Linked DNA regions of Homo sapiens: region 2 is linked to region 1. The links are contacts of gene promoters, found by promoter capture Hi-C in human tissues and cell types (Jung and others, 2019). All regions are on one chromosome and are shown on one strand. The core of a region is centred on a gene start or on the middle of the fragment in contact, and the rest is flanking DNA. Distances in the headings are between cores, read along the strand shown. Region 1 holds the start of CLIC6 (chloride intracellular channel 6). Region 2 overlaps RUNX1 (RUNX family transcription factor 1).

What was found. Contacts are between HindIII fragments. The study calls those that stand out against the background at their distance.
Region 2: a contact is called between a fragment that was not itself captured here and the fragment with the promoter of CLIC6 in region 1, in 1 of the 25 tissues and cell types used here (lymphoblastoid cells).

What each region holds. Positions count from the first base shown.
Region 1 is chr21:34,666,823-34,672,922 of GRCh38, reverse strand. It overlaps CLIC6 (chloride intracellular channel 6), which reads right to left and starts at 3,929. Exons shown (of 6, transcript NM_053277.3): 1 at 2,161-3,929. The coding sequence starts at 3,534. RefSeq lists silencers at 2,217-2,296, 3,197-3,636. The HindIII fragment of the contact is 4,429 bases long and covers 862-5,290 here.
Region 2 is chr21:34,878,568-34,885,054 of GRCh38, reverse strand. It overlaps RUNX1 (RUNX family transcription factor 1), which reads left to right. Exons shown (of 9, transcript NM_001754.5): 5 at 4,342-4,498. It overlaps RUNX1-AS1 (RUNX1 antisense RNA 1), which reads right to left. Exons shown (of 2, transcript NR_186614.1): 2 at 3-1,572. Among named protein-coding and RNA genes, the nearest start is that of RUNX1-AS1, 45 kb to the right of the region's middle. RefSeq lists a silencer at 2,083-2,132. The HindIII fragment of the contact is 5,344 bases long and covers 2,216-6,487 here.

The DNA.
Region 1 (6,100 bases), core at 2,680-5,179:
TAAGCTTATTTCCAGCCAGGCACTTTTCTAAGTGCTTTGTGTAATCTAATTCTCAATTTCTCACGGTAACCTCAAGGGCTAGGTACTATTACCGTCCCCATTTTATCAATGAGACCACAATGATACCAAAAGATTAAGTAACTTGCCCAAGGTCACACGGCAAGAAATTAGCAAAGCCAAGATTTGATCCCAGACCCACTGGCTCTAAAGTCCGTGTTCTTGATCACCACACTATCCAGCAGCTAGCCGCCCATTCAAGCCTTCACCACATCCCACACCTGTGTTCTGCGCTGGAGATAGAATGATGAATTTCACACAGCTGAGGAAAGAGACATAGCAGGCTGAGGGCAATGCCTTAACAGGGTCATCCGACTGGGACTGGAAGATATGACATCCATGCTAACTCTTGGACTTGTGGCAGATAACTAGGCAGGAGGGCAGACAGGGGCGAGGAGGAGAAACTCCATTCAGACAGAGGGTACATAATGTAGAAAGTTTCAAGGCAGGAAAGAACGTGGCTCCCTCAAGGAACAGTAAGTAGTTTAATCCAGGTGGCATAGCGAGACCACAGGTAACAAAGGGTGGGGACACCCAGCAATGCCAAGGCCAGAAAGAAAGAAGGCAGAAATAACATCACAAAGGGCCTTGTGGGCTGCCTAAGGAGTGGGGATTTACCTGAAATTCTGCAATAAACAACTGAAGAATTTTACACAAAGAAATAAAATGATCAGATCTTGTCCGCAGCTCACTGGCTATTACAAAGAGACTAGATTGGAGAGGACAGAGAACTGAAACAGGGAGACTAGCCAGAAGCTGCTACTGTCCATCAAAACTGTGCTAAGAGGCCGTGTGCCAGAATCATGTATCCTTACAACCACAGCAACGGGAAATTTCTAAAACCAAGGTGATGGAGAGGAGCAGATTTGGGGTCACACAGCAGCACTGCGCTCCAGCTCTTCCCAGCAGCCTCTCAGGGGCTGGTGTCCTGAGGTTATGTCCCAGGGTCTTGAAAAAAGCCAGAAACAGCACCTTCTCACTAGGGAAGAAACACACACACACCCCTTCTTTCCCAAGCCCCTCGCCACCCAAACAATTCTTAAAATTCTGATGTTAATCACATTGGGAGCATTTCCTTTTACTTATTAAAATGTGCTTGCATTTCAGCCAGAGAGATTTAGATGGTAACTGGTTTCTATAAGCCTGGAAGTATTTCTGAAGGATTATGATTCAACATGAAATGCACATTCTTGACCTTATTATCTCCAACTTTCCTGGGTCTGGCCAAAGGTCCTCAGAAAAGGCTTTTTAAACAAAGATCCTGGTGTGAACTGCTGCTGAGCTTTGTTCTTTCATTTTTCATGCCTTGTAAATAATTCCTGTTTAAATTCAAAACTTCCTCAGTTGTGTCTCTACAGATTCCTTCACAGAATCCTTGCTCTCTTCCCATGTGAACTGAGGTTAAAAACATGACATACAAGCAGATGATGTTCAAGTCACCGGCATCTTGTATTCTTCCAAATTCAATGTTAAAACGTTCAAAAAACATTATGTCAATAAGGCTCCATTCCCCCCTAAACGTACATTGTTGATTCTACCAAAATGGAATACCTTTTTGGAGTTGAAAACATTGACCAGCTCTGGGTCTCCGAGATTGAGTCTGGAAGGCACCTCCCACATTGAACCTACCTGTCTGCGTTTTTTGGCTTCAAGTATTAAAGCTTCCTTTGGCAGAAATCCCTTTGAACACCAATAGGGTGCGTTGCTTTTCTTCTTCTTCTTCTTTTTTTTTTTTTTTTTTTTTAACTTTTTAGTTAATTCGTTAATAACCTCCTGACTAGGAGGGCTGGTTAGGATGTTCAGGTCAAAGGACAGTGGGATGCTGAACCCACAACCCCACATCCTCATTGGCCCCCATCGCACTCCCCGTCGCCCCCACCCCCAAAGTCTTTGCTTCCAAACCATTGAGTCCTCCCGCAAATGCCCTGGAAACTCTTCTCCGGGAAATCCCGGCTGTCCCGCCTACCGCCCGCGCATGGAAGCGCCTGATGACAATCAGGATACCACCAAGGGTTCCTCCCTGCGCGTCCCTCTGGGATCTGAGATGACCAAGACCTCGAATGGAAGGGGGTCGTCCTAAGAATTGAGGGAAGCGAGCTTTACCTTGACGAAGAGGGTGATGTCGTGCTCCTGCCCCAGGGCCCGGGGCTCGGACGCCTCTCCGTCCTCCCGGCGGCCGTTCACGCGCGCGGCCTCGCCGCTACCCTCGGCGGGGCCCTCCTCGGCCAGGTGGTTGCTGAGCTGGGCCTCAGGCTCCGCGGCGCCCCTGGAGGCCTCCCCATGTGGGCTGCTGTCGGGGGATTCCTCTTCGCCCCCCGCTGCTTCCTCCTCCCTTGGCCCCTCCGGGCTCCGCTCTCGTCTCTCTTCGTCCTCCCCCGGCTCCTGCTGTGGCCCATCCCCTACCCTGTCCTCGCCAGCGTCTGCCCTTGCGTCCCCGGGGGCCGCTTCTTCGGACCCCTTTACCCCCGGGACCTCCGCCTCCTCCGCTGCGTCCCAGGCGAGCTCACCGGGGCTGCGCCCCGCACTCTCCCCGGCTGCGACCTCAATTGCCTCGGCCTGGGGCGAGAGGCTGCCGTCCCCCGATTGCTGCGGCTCACCCGAGACCCGGCGCGCCCTTCCTGCCGGACCCTCGGCGTCCATGCTGTCCCCCGCCGGGCCTTCGGCTTCTACGCTGTCCCCCGCCGGGACCCCCGCTTCTACGCCGTCCCCCGCCGGGTCCCCCGCCTCTACGCTGTCCCCCACCCGGCCCTCCGCGTCTACGCTGTCCCCCGCCGGACCTTCCGCGTCTACGCTGTCCCCCACCCGGCCCTCCGCGTCTACGCTGTCCCCCGCCGGGCCCTCGGCTTGTATGTTGTCCCCCAGCGGGCCCTCCGCGTCTACGCTGTCCCCCGCCGGACCTTCCGCGTCTACGCTGTCCCCCACCCGGCCCTCCGCCTCTACGCTGTCGCCCGCCGGGCCCTCCGCTTCTATGTTGTCCCCCAGCGGGCCCTCCGCGTCTACGCTGTCCCCCGCCTCCCCGGACGCGCTACCTTCCGGGACCTCAGGCCTCTGCTCCGCCTCCTCCTGCCTCTCGGGGGCCGCAGAGTCCTCGGGCTCCCTCTGAGCCTCCCCGCGGGGCTCGCCCTGCGCGCCGCGTCCCGGGCTCGCCCCCTCCACCTGCTGCGCGCCGCTTGTCTCCTCCCCTCCTTGGGGCACCTCGGCACCCTCCGGGGCTCCCTCCTCGGCCTCAGTCTCGCCGTGCGCCCCCCTCGTGCCCCGCGCCTCGGCCTCCGGGCCCCTGTCTGGCCCGCCGCCTCCTGCCTCCTTCACAGCGGCGGCGCCCCTCGGCGCCTCCTCTGCGCCCTCGCTCCCCTCCGGCCCTTCTGCCTCCCCGCCCGCGGCTCCTGGCTCTCCGGGTCTCTCAGCCAGAGGCGCGGGGACCTCCGGCGGCCCCTGGGGACCCGGGGCAACCCCCTCCGGCTCCGCGGCCTCGGCCATGGCCGCAGATCCCTGTCCTTGATCGGGACTCCTTCCTTGACGCTGCTTAAGGGTCGGTGGCGCTGGGCAAGGGGCGTGCTACGGGGCCCTCTGTGCTCCTTGAAGGACGCCGGCTCCGGGATCCTGCGGCAAAGGTTTAGCCGGGGCACTGGGGCCTTGCGCAGGACCCGCAGGGCAAACTCCGCTTGGCCCCAAGCCTCTGCGCCCCTTCTGCCCAGCTGAAACTCCCTGGACTCTTCCTCCACTGCTGGAGCTTCTCCCCGATTGCGCGTCTGCTTCCCACCGGGACCCCAATCTCGCCCGCGGGCCGCGGAGGTGCAGTGCACGGCTGGAGAGGGCTGCTTCGCTCCTGCGCCTTTGGAAGTGCCCGGCCCGCTGTCCGCTGTCCTGGGGTTGACCAGAAGTCCTTGGTGCCAACTCCATCCCCTGGGGCTTGGGCGGGGTTTGTCTTCCCCTCCTCCCTCCTTTGTTTGGGTAGCCTAGGAGCTTGGCCAATGACAGCCTTTCTCGTGACCCTTGTGGATGTTGATGAAAAGATTCTGGTTCTCCTGGCCGCTTGGGTGTTGTTCTCTAGAATGGCTTCAAGTTCCAGAGTCACTTAAATCACCCCCTCCAAACACACACCCCGACACCCAAACACCTAATCCCCACCTTACCCCAGGAGTGAAGCATCAAGCTCCCCCGGTACCCAACTGAAGATGTCCACATTGTGCCTGATGTCCAAGAGCAAGGGTGTAAATCCCTGAGAGAAGAAGCTGGGGAGGCTACGCTGGCCGCCTTCCCATGTCTGCAGGGCCCCCGGAGAGGTTCCAGAGGCCCCTCATATAGACGCACAAGGAGCCAGTCGAGTTTCTCTGACCAGAGATGGGCGCTGTTGTCCATGAGGGTCCGCTTCTCCGGGCCTGTCTGGAGGATCGTGGGAGCCCTGCGCTGGAAAAAGGTTACACCTTCATCTCCCGGGTCTCTTAAGACTGTAAGAGTCTGTGTATCTTGCTGATTCTCCTAGATTTCTAAACTCACCACCAGTGCTTCTGCCTCCAAGTTAAGAGCTTGGGAATCTGGAGGTGGAGAAAAGAAAATCCAAGATGTGAAAGAGGGGAGCTATGGAATTCCCTGGGTTAGGGTTCTCCCAGGATCACAGACCCAATACCTACTTTAAAAAGGAAGTTATTATGGTGAAAAGTATGTCGTAAGTTTATTATAAGCCAGGCTACTTCTAGTGGGTTACCAAGAAACTGGGTTACCCAAGGTGGCACTATGTAAATGTGGTGGAACGGGGATCCCAGCTCAAGACTGACTTGATTCATCAGGCTTTATATGGCTTTGATATTGGCCTAAGATACATGAGCCCCTCATGCCCACAGAAGGTTGTTTTCGTTGAAAGAGCTGGGTGTGCCTTTGATGTGGCTTGGGGTCACACCTTTGGCCATGAACATAATGTGTCTCCTTCTACTTCCCATTGCTCATCACTGATGGATGACAGGACAGGAGCCCAGAGACACTCAGCTTCATGCTACCTTTCTCCAAGGCTGTGCTCTGTCTGGGTAGGTACAGGCCAGAAGCTTCATCACCACAAAGTGGCATCTAGTCAAAGCATGACACTCACACAGGTGAGCCAGAGATGCACGTGAGCCGTAAAAGCTCTAGGCACCTAGAAAAGGAATCCTGCTGCATTCACCGGGGCAAGGTAGCAGCCATCACCCTTATCTTGTAAAGAAAGATGAAGCCAGCACGTTCAGCCCGGAACAGCAAACACAGTACAGGTTTACAGTGCTTTATGCAAATCCCATGAGCCCGGATGTGTTTCAGAAAACAGAATTGTTAGAAAGATGATTGAGTGATTTTACTGTATATTACATAACACAGAACATCACTTTGTGATCAAACACATTAATATTTCTGCAGTAAGACAGGCATCACATTTGGTGAGATATGGTAAAATCATACAAGCTTCAGGCCCCCCACCCCCAGTTTAGGTTCACCTCCAGCTGAGTTCAAGCCTTTCTGGTTCTGATTCTAGATGAGTTCCCAAAACAGCTTTCAGTATTCAGAGCCTTTTAGGATTTCAGAATGTGTATAAAAGGATTGTGGACCTGTGAACCATTGAAGGGCTCTGGGTTTATTTGCGCTGCTTAGAAAAATGTGAGATTAGTTAGATACATAACTTTGTCCTTAATAACAAACCGTCTTCAATGCTCAATGTTTACAAAGAACCAAATTAAAGACACTCATGCGAGTAATAATATTTAGCAAATTCTTTTAGCAAAGTCAGTAGATAAGAATTTCTGTCAATAGAGTGTCTTGTGACATTAGCTTACCCCCCAAAGTATAAAACTAACTGAGGAAAGTATTTTCCAAAACTAGTTCAGGTTGGTGCATATGTATTTGAAGGCACGTGTGTATTCAGTCATTCAGGAAATATTTCATAAACTCTAACTCAATCAAACTTGATAGAAATGTGCTGGCTATTGGGGGGGGGTGTGGTTGGAATATCTAGAAAAACCTCCTTTTGAATTGAGCTAAAGATGATCAGCTACTGTTTGCAGACTTGGCACAGTCGGAAACA
Region 2 (6,487 bases), core at 3,638-6,137, 210 kb before region 1:
TCTCAAGCCATTACATGAAAGTATTTATTTTCTTCTAAAAAATGAAAAATTATACATATTGCTTTTATGAGCTGTCAGAATTCTTTCTAGCAGAAACCATAATAACCATAGAGTTTCCTTTTTAAAATGACTTTTGGCAATTCACTTAAAAACAATTAATTTGTTTTATTGAGTGATAATCTATAGGCTACTAAAAATCCAAATACAGAGCTCTTGAAAAAAGTTCAAGCAGATCCCCTGAGAACATTTAGGGGAAAGGAAAGGATAGCAGAGAAATCAGACCATTTGATTATTGTCTGTCACCACCCCAATCCTCATAAAAAGAGGCTTCTTCCTGGAGGAGACCTGCTCACTGCATAACTAGAAGAGTAGACAAAATGTTCAGTGAGACAGTAAACGTGAAGGGATAAAATGTTAGGGATAAAAGCAAGCAAAACATCAAAACCTGCCTACATCCCGGGCTCATTTAGTGTGTGTCCCTGGCTTCACTCTATCTGCCCACCCAACCACCTCACAAGCAGCTTCAACAGAAATTATTACTTTAAAATTTGGATCTTAAATAAGCCGCAGGCAATCTCCCTAGGAAGTTAACCAGTAAATAATTATTATATTCCCTATGGTAAAGAGAAGCAAATGTGAAACAATGATAAGGCCTGATGATATTGATGAAAAGATCACTGAAGGCCTTCTTAGGAATCTCCTGAAGTTCTGTAGGTAAATCCTCTACGTCAATCTTCTGAACTAAAGAGAGATTTAAAATTATGAATTTTCTTTAAAATAGATTACAATAACCCTACTTGCTTATTTTGAGCCCCAACCTGTTCTCCCCCTACTCCTTCCCTCCCATGGAACACCTTTATTTTTTACAGTATGAGAGATACATGTTTTTTACTACTAAGAAAACCTTAAGTTTGCTGTGTGTTTTGCTGTACTTACAGAATTAGCCTAAAAAGCTGTTTTGATGACTTAGGATGTATTTGGTAATACCATGGTGTTATAGCTTGTTCAGGCCCTGGTACACCAGAGTCCAAAGACGTAAACGTGCCTTCAGCAGGGAAGTTCGGAGGTCTTGGATTCTGATGGTAATATTCTTTTCATAAAAAGGAAATAAGTAATATTTTTGTCGGCAAGATCACAGTCCCTAGCTATGCCTTAAATATCATCTCAGCTGAATTCTGTGTTCCACTCCACAGCCTTCTTTGCAACACTGGAAGGTTAACGGATTTGAAGTAAATGAATTGTAACTGTAATTTCAACCTAATTAGAATTGGTTTAAAATGCCAGTTTGGACCGTGAACAGGCTAGCCAAGAACAGTATTGGGAGGTCCATGTAATATAGAAGAGAGTTGATATTTGGCCCAACTTCCTGATACTTTAAAAACAGAGAAGTAAAACAAAATATGAGATATCTTTGGCCAGCAAGTCCCTTCTTGCCTGTTTGGTCTGTGTTAAAATGTAAATGTTTGTGTTTCCTTACCTATTGTTTATAGCTTTTCATTCCAGTTGTTTCTTTTTTCTGTTTGAAGTTAGATATTTTTACATTCTCTCCATATTGCCCATCAGTGACAAAACCTGTATCAAATTAGCACGCATGTTAGTTTTGAATTAAAAAGAAACTTTTTAAACCTGGCTTAAGTATGCTTGTTAACAATTGGACGATATACAGTATTAATGAATTGCCCTGGATTTACTAGTTCCCCTTTACCCACCCGCCTCCACCAAAAAAAAACCCTCAGAGATCAATACAAGGCCAAGTGAATGATATGTAGGTGCCCAAATATGGTTGATTCTGCTGCATTTAAAAAAAAAGAGGAGTGGGAGTTAAACTTCTAATTTTTTTCTTCTTAAGTTCCAACATCAACAGCCTTTTCTTATTTAGCCTCCATGATAATTTTATTCTATGTTTGTTTCGACTTGGCGAAGGTCTCCTGAATTTGCCAAATTACCAATGAGGATAGTATTGGAAAGATGAGAGAGGCACAGGCTTGGAGCACTGTGAGGGGAACAGCAGTAGGAGGCAGATAATTCAGAATACATTCCTGTAGTTATAAAAGAAGATTTATTTATTTTCACCTTTTTACAGATCCAGACCCAACAATGAGTTATTCAGTTTGAAACCCACGTAGTGGAGGCAGTCTCTGTATACCTGCTGAATGTTGAGTTACAATAGAGAAGCCTGGGTTACCACAGGGAGAGGAGGATGAGGAAGTAAAAATATGTGTTCAAAGAGGGCATTTCAACACTGTGAGCTAACTTTACAACGGGAAGTGAAAATCATGAAAAAAAGGGGAAAATTTGTTGTGAGAGACTAAAAAGAGCAAAATAAAGCAAGCCCATTTTTCGGGAATAGAAAAAAAAAAAAAACAGTAGCAATAACCAAATAACTGATCAGGGAGATTTATTTCCGTGATATCTTTTTAAAACAAAAAGGGAATTGTCGTATCACTGCTCTTAATTAAATGGCAACAAACACACTTATAATGGGAACTAAATAGCTAATTAGAGGGTGCTTGGGGAATAAATAGCAGAGTTTTAAAATCTCCTATATGGAAAACATGTCCAACAATTGGAATGAAAGGATTAAAAAGAGAGAAAAGGCCCAGACCTTGTTTGGCAGTGCAAGTTGGATAAAATAGAGGAAAATGCCTCCCTGCTTCTATGAGACTAGATTATCCTGGTGTAGTCTTGGGGTTGGAAGTATGTTCATCTCTCATAGTGAGTTAGTTCGTGTTCTGTGCCACAAGGACTGAAGCAGTTCTAATGAATAAAAACAATAGATAGTCATCTGGAGGCCACAGGGAAAGGGTGATGGCTAAGCAGATCATGAAAATGGGAATCTTGAGAAACATGACTTCGATATCATACAAGTGAGTCTATGGCAGCCTTTTTTACATATAGAAAAAGAGGCCTGAAAATATATACTACAAAAAATTATGTAGCAGTTATTAAGGTAAAAATTGGGAAGTAGGAGGCAGAGGAAGGAGTGATAACACTAGATTAAGGAATGCTTTACTGTTACCAATTCAAAAACAGCAACCAAAAATGATGATGTAATTGGAATGAGTAATATAAATGTCACTACTGACTTTACCGTAAAGAATGTCAGAAATGATCAGAATAAATACAGCTTGGGGCATTTCGATTTGAAGTTGTATGACTGCTTTGAAAAATAGAAACAAAGGAAATACAGCCAATAGTAAATGTCTAGACCAAGAAAATAGTTTCTAGAAGGCCTAAATGATAGCCAAGAAATTGATGCTATTGTACAAAGTATCTTTAGGTCATGCTTTTCAGAGTATTTTACTTTGGAATTCATTTTCTTAATTACCTGAGTATAAAAACATTTATCTACCAGTTTTCTCCAATAGCCCTGATAAGACTTCATACTTACTCAGTTACATTAAATAAATTCCTGGTCAAGATCAGCTGGGCTAGCAGAAAACCTCAGGCATCTGTGAGGACATGAGTTTACACACGCTGAGACTCACAGATACAAAAATGCAACCCAATTCCACCCCTGAATTGAGGGGAGTGCATAGAAGTGAATGTCCCGTCTTTCTGAGGTCTGTTGATTTTGTAATTAGTAAACGAAGGGTGCATTTCTGATTTTTTTTTCTTGTGTGCTAGAATTCATTGCTAGTAAAACTCAAGATAATAGCGATGAGTAGGAGGTATCAAAGATGAACTGTAGAGGGACAGTTTAAGTTACTTAAGAATCGTCAGCAAGATGAAATCTACTTTTAGCAGAAATTGGGTTTTTTTGTGTTTTTTTGTTTTGTTTTATTTTCTAAAAGTAAAGTCTGCACCTTGTTCAGCCTGTTAGTGGAGGTCTGAGCAAGTAAAAGATGGGTTGGATTATAAACTTACAAACACAGGATGTTCTGTTTCTCAAACGGGAGAAATTAAGAAGAGATGCTTGTATTCAGGAGACGGCATAGCTACTCAAAATCCTTGATATCTTGCTATGGTTAGTCTTGTTCCAACTGTGCTATGTGACCTACTATGGCTTTATGAGGTAAATTTAGTATATGTGTCACTATTTGAAAATTTACATATAGTTATACATAATGTATTAGGTTGGTGCAAATGTAACTGCAGTTTTTGGAGTTAAAAATTGCAAACACTGCAATTACTTTTGCACCAACCTAAAATATAATAAAAAAGTGTCTTCTCTTTATAACTTTTCTGTTGTTTTGCTTAAGTTATCATTGCTATTCCTCTGCAACCTAAAAAGAAATCATTGAATATACATTTAATTTTAGAATAATCACTACACAAATGCCCTAAAAGTGTATGTATAACATCCCTGATGTCTGCATTTGTCCTTTGACTGGTGTTTAGGTGGTGGCCCTAGGGGATGTTCCAGATGGCACTCTGGTCACTGTGATGGCTGGCAATGATGAAAACTACTCGGCTGAGCTGAGAAATGCTACCGCAGCCATGAAGAACCAGGTTGCAAGATTTAATGACCTCAGGTTTGTCGGTCGAAGTGGAAGAGGTACGTTATCTGTCAAAACTATGCTTGAAACACGTTTCATGGCAACAAACCCACATTTCAAAATTCTAGTGATTTCTGTGATGGAATCCCTAGAAACTCGGTCTGTCTTAACATTCTTATTGCTATGTCAAGCTCTTAAAAATATTTATTTGAAGTTTAATATTTTTAGCAGAATCTCTATATTATTGCTTTATGTTACTGAGTGGATTTAAGACTGATTTGGAACATGCAACGTAGGAATTGTGAATTTCAAAGAAACGCCTGAGATTTTTACTAAAATGCAAAAAATATAAAACTGACTTTAATGAAACTAGGATTATACAATTACAATGAGGATTCTCTCTTGGATAACAATACAAAAGCTATTTAATGGAAACTGTTGACGTATGATCTGTGGGCTATCTGTGAAAAGTGACAGAGTTTCGAATGACCACTTCTAATAATTTTAGGGATTTCTAGTGTATGATGTTGAAACATGGTTTCAAGCAAGCTTACCTTTTTAGAAAAAGACATGAAGAAATAATGTTAGTACCATTGATGGCAGTATGATCTTCCTGTTGTATTTCTTTTCAATGCCTTATTTAGGAGGAGGGGTTGGGCCTGGTTAGCATTTTAGATACTAATAATATTAGAGATTGGATTATCCAAGAAATTGTTGCATTACTTCAGCTCCATGTGTGATTTTATTTTTCCTTGCCTTTAACTCATTATCAAAGCATTAGAGCAGAAATAGGAATCTTGGCTTATTGTAATTTTTTCTGGTTTCCAATTATTTTCAAGTATTATGTTTTCTTTACATTGTAAGAACCAAATCATATTTTATAAATAGCAACAAGTAGTAAAAGTTTAGTTGAGGGAGGTAAGATAGTTTTTTAAACTCATTTTTTGTAATATAGTACCGATTAAGCTTACAAATAAGTTATTTCAAGTATAATAAAAAGACTTATGGTAAATACCTAAATAACAGTAATAGTTCTCGTATTGAAAAAAATGGAAGCACCAATCAAACAACATTTAAAATAAGAGAAATTATTACTCTTTAAAAAGGCATTTAAAAACAAGAAAATCTCAGTTCTCAGAGAATTTGATTAGTCAGAAAGGAGAAAGGGGTAAATGTGAGTTGATTATTTTGGTGATTATTTTTGCTATCCTAGCTATCTGGAGCATTTTCATAATAGAATCATAGCTGGAGAAAATAAAAAATTTATATAATGTGATTGAAAATATATATTCATAGTACTATATTAATAATAGGGTAATGCAAAGAAAATTATATCCACTTTTTGAAAGCATGAGTGATGCTATAAGATATAAAAGCATAAGTCATTAAATGGGTTCACTTGTTGTATTAAAAGTCCCCACCTTTCAGTAAATGGAATTTGCATTATGATTCAGAGATGTGTGTCTAGAAAACATCTTAAAGGCTTCGGATGAGTAGCTGGCAGAGTGGGTGAGAAGCCAATAAAAAACAAAGGCCCCACAGCCTGGTCCATGCCCATCGGCCTAGCTAACTCTCTTAATTCAGTTCTTGTGGATTTCTGCTGTTAGGAATCAATAGCTAAGTATCATTGAATTGCTTTTCTAGAGAAAGTGTTATCATCATACTATGCATCTGTGTGGGTCTTCAAGTTAGGTTTTGGTCATAAAAGTTTTAAAAACTATTTAGTGATCCGTGCCAGTGACATTTTCCCACAAGAAGTTCAGTAGTGGCTTTCCGGCAATGCACAGTAAACCAGTGATAATAAAAAAATGAGATTTTGAAAGCAGTGTGCTTTCTTTTCTGGCATTGATGGCTGATCTTGCATCCCTCATTGACCATTTCTGTTTTGAGTGGGTGACTAATAGGTGCTTGTGTTTACTTGGGTAACAGTGAACTGTTTCCCCAAGGTGTGGAGTGTTTGCATTTGGCTGCAGGATTCGTGCCAGTATGCCCTTGAGTTTGCATAAACCCCAAAAAGTAAAATAGCTGCAACCAAGGCTGGGCTGTCT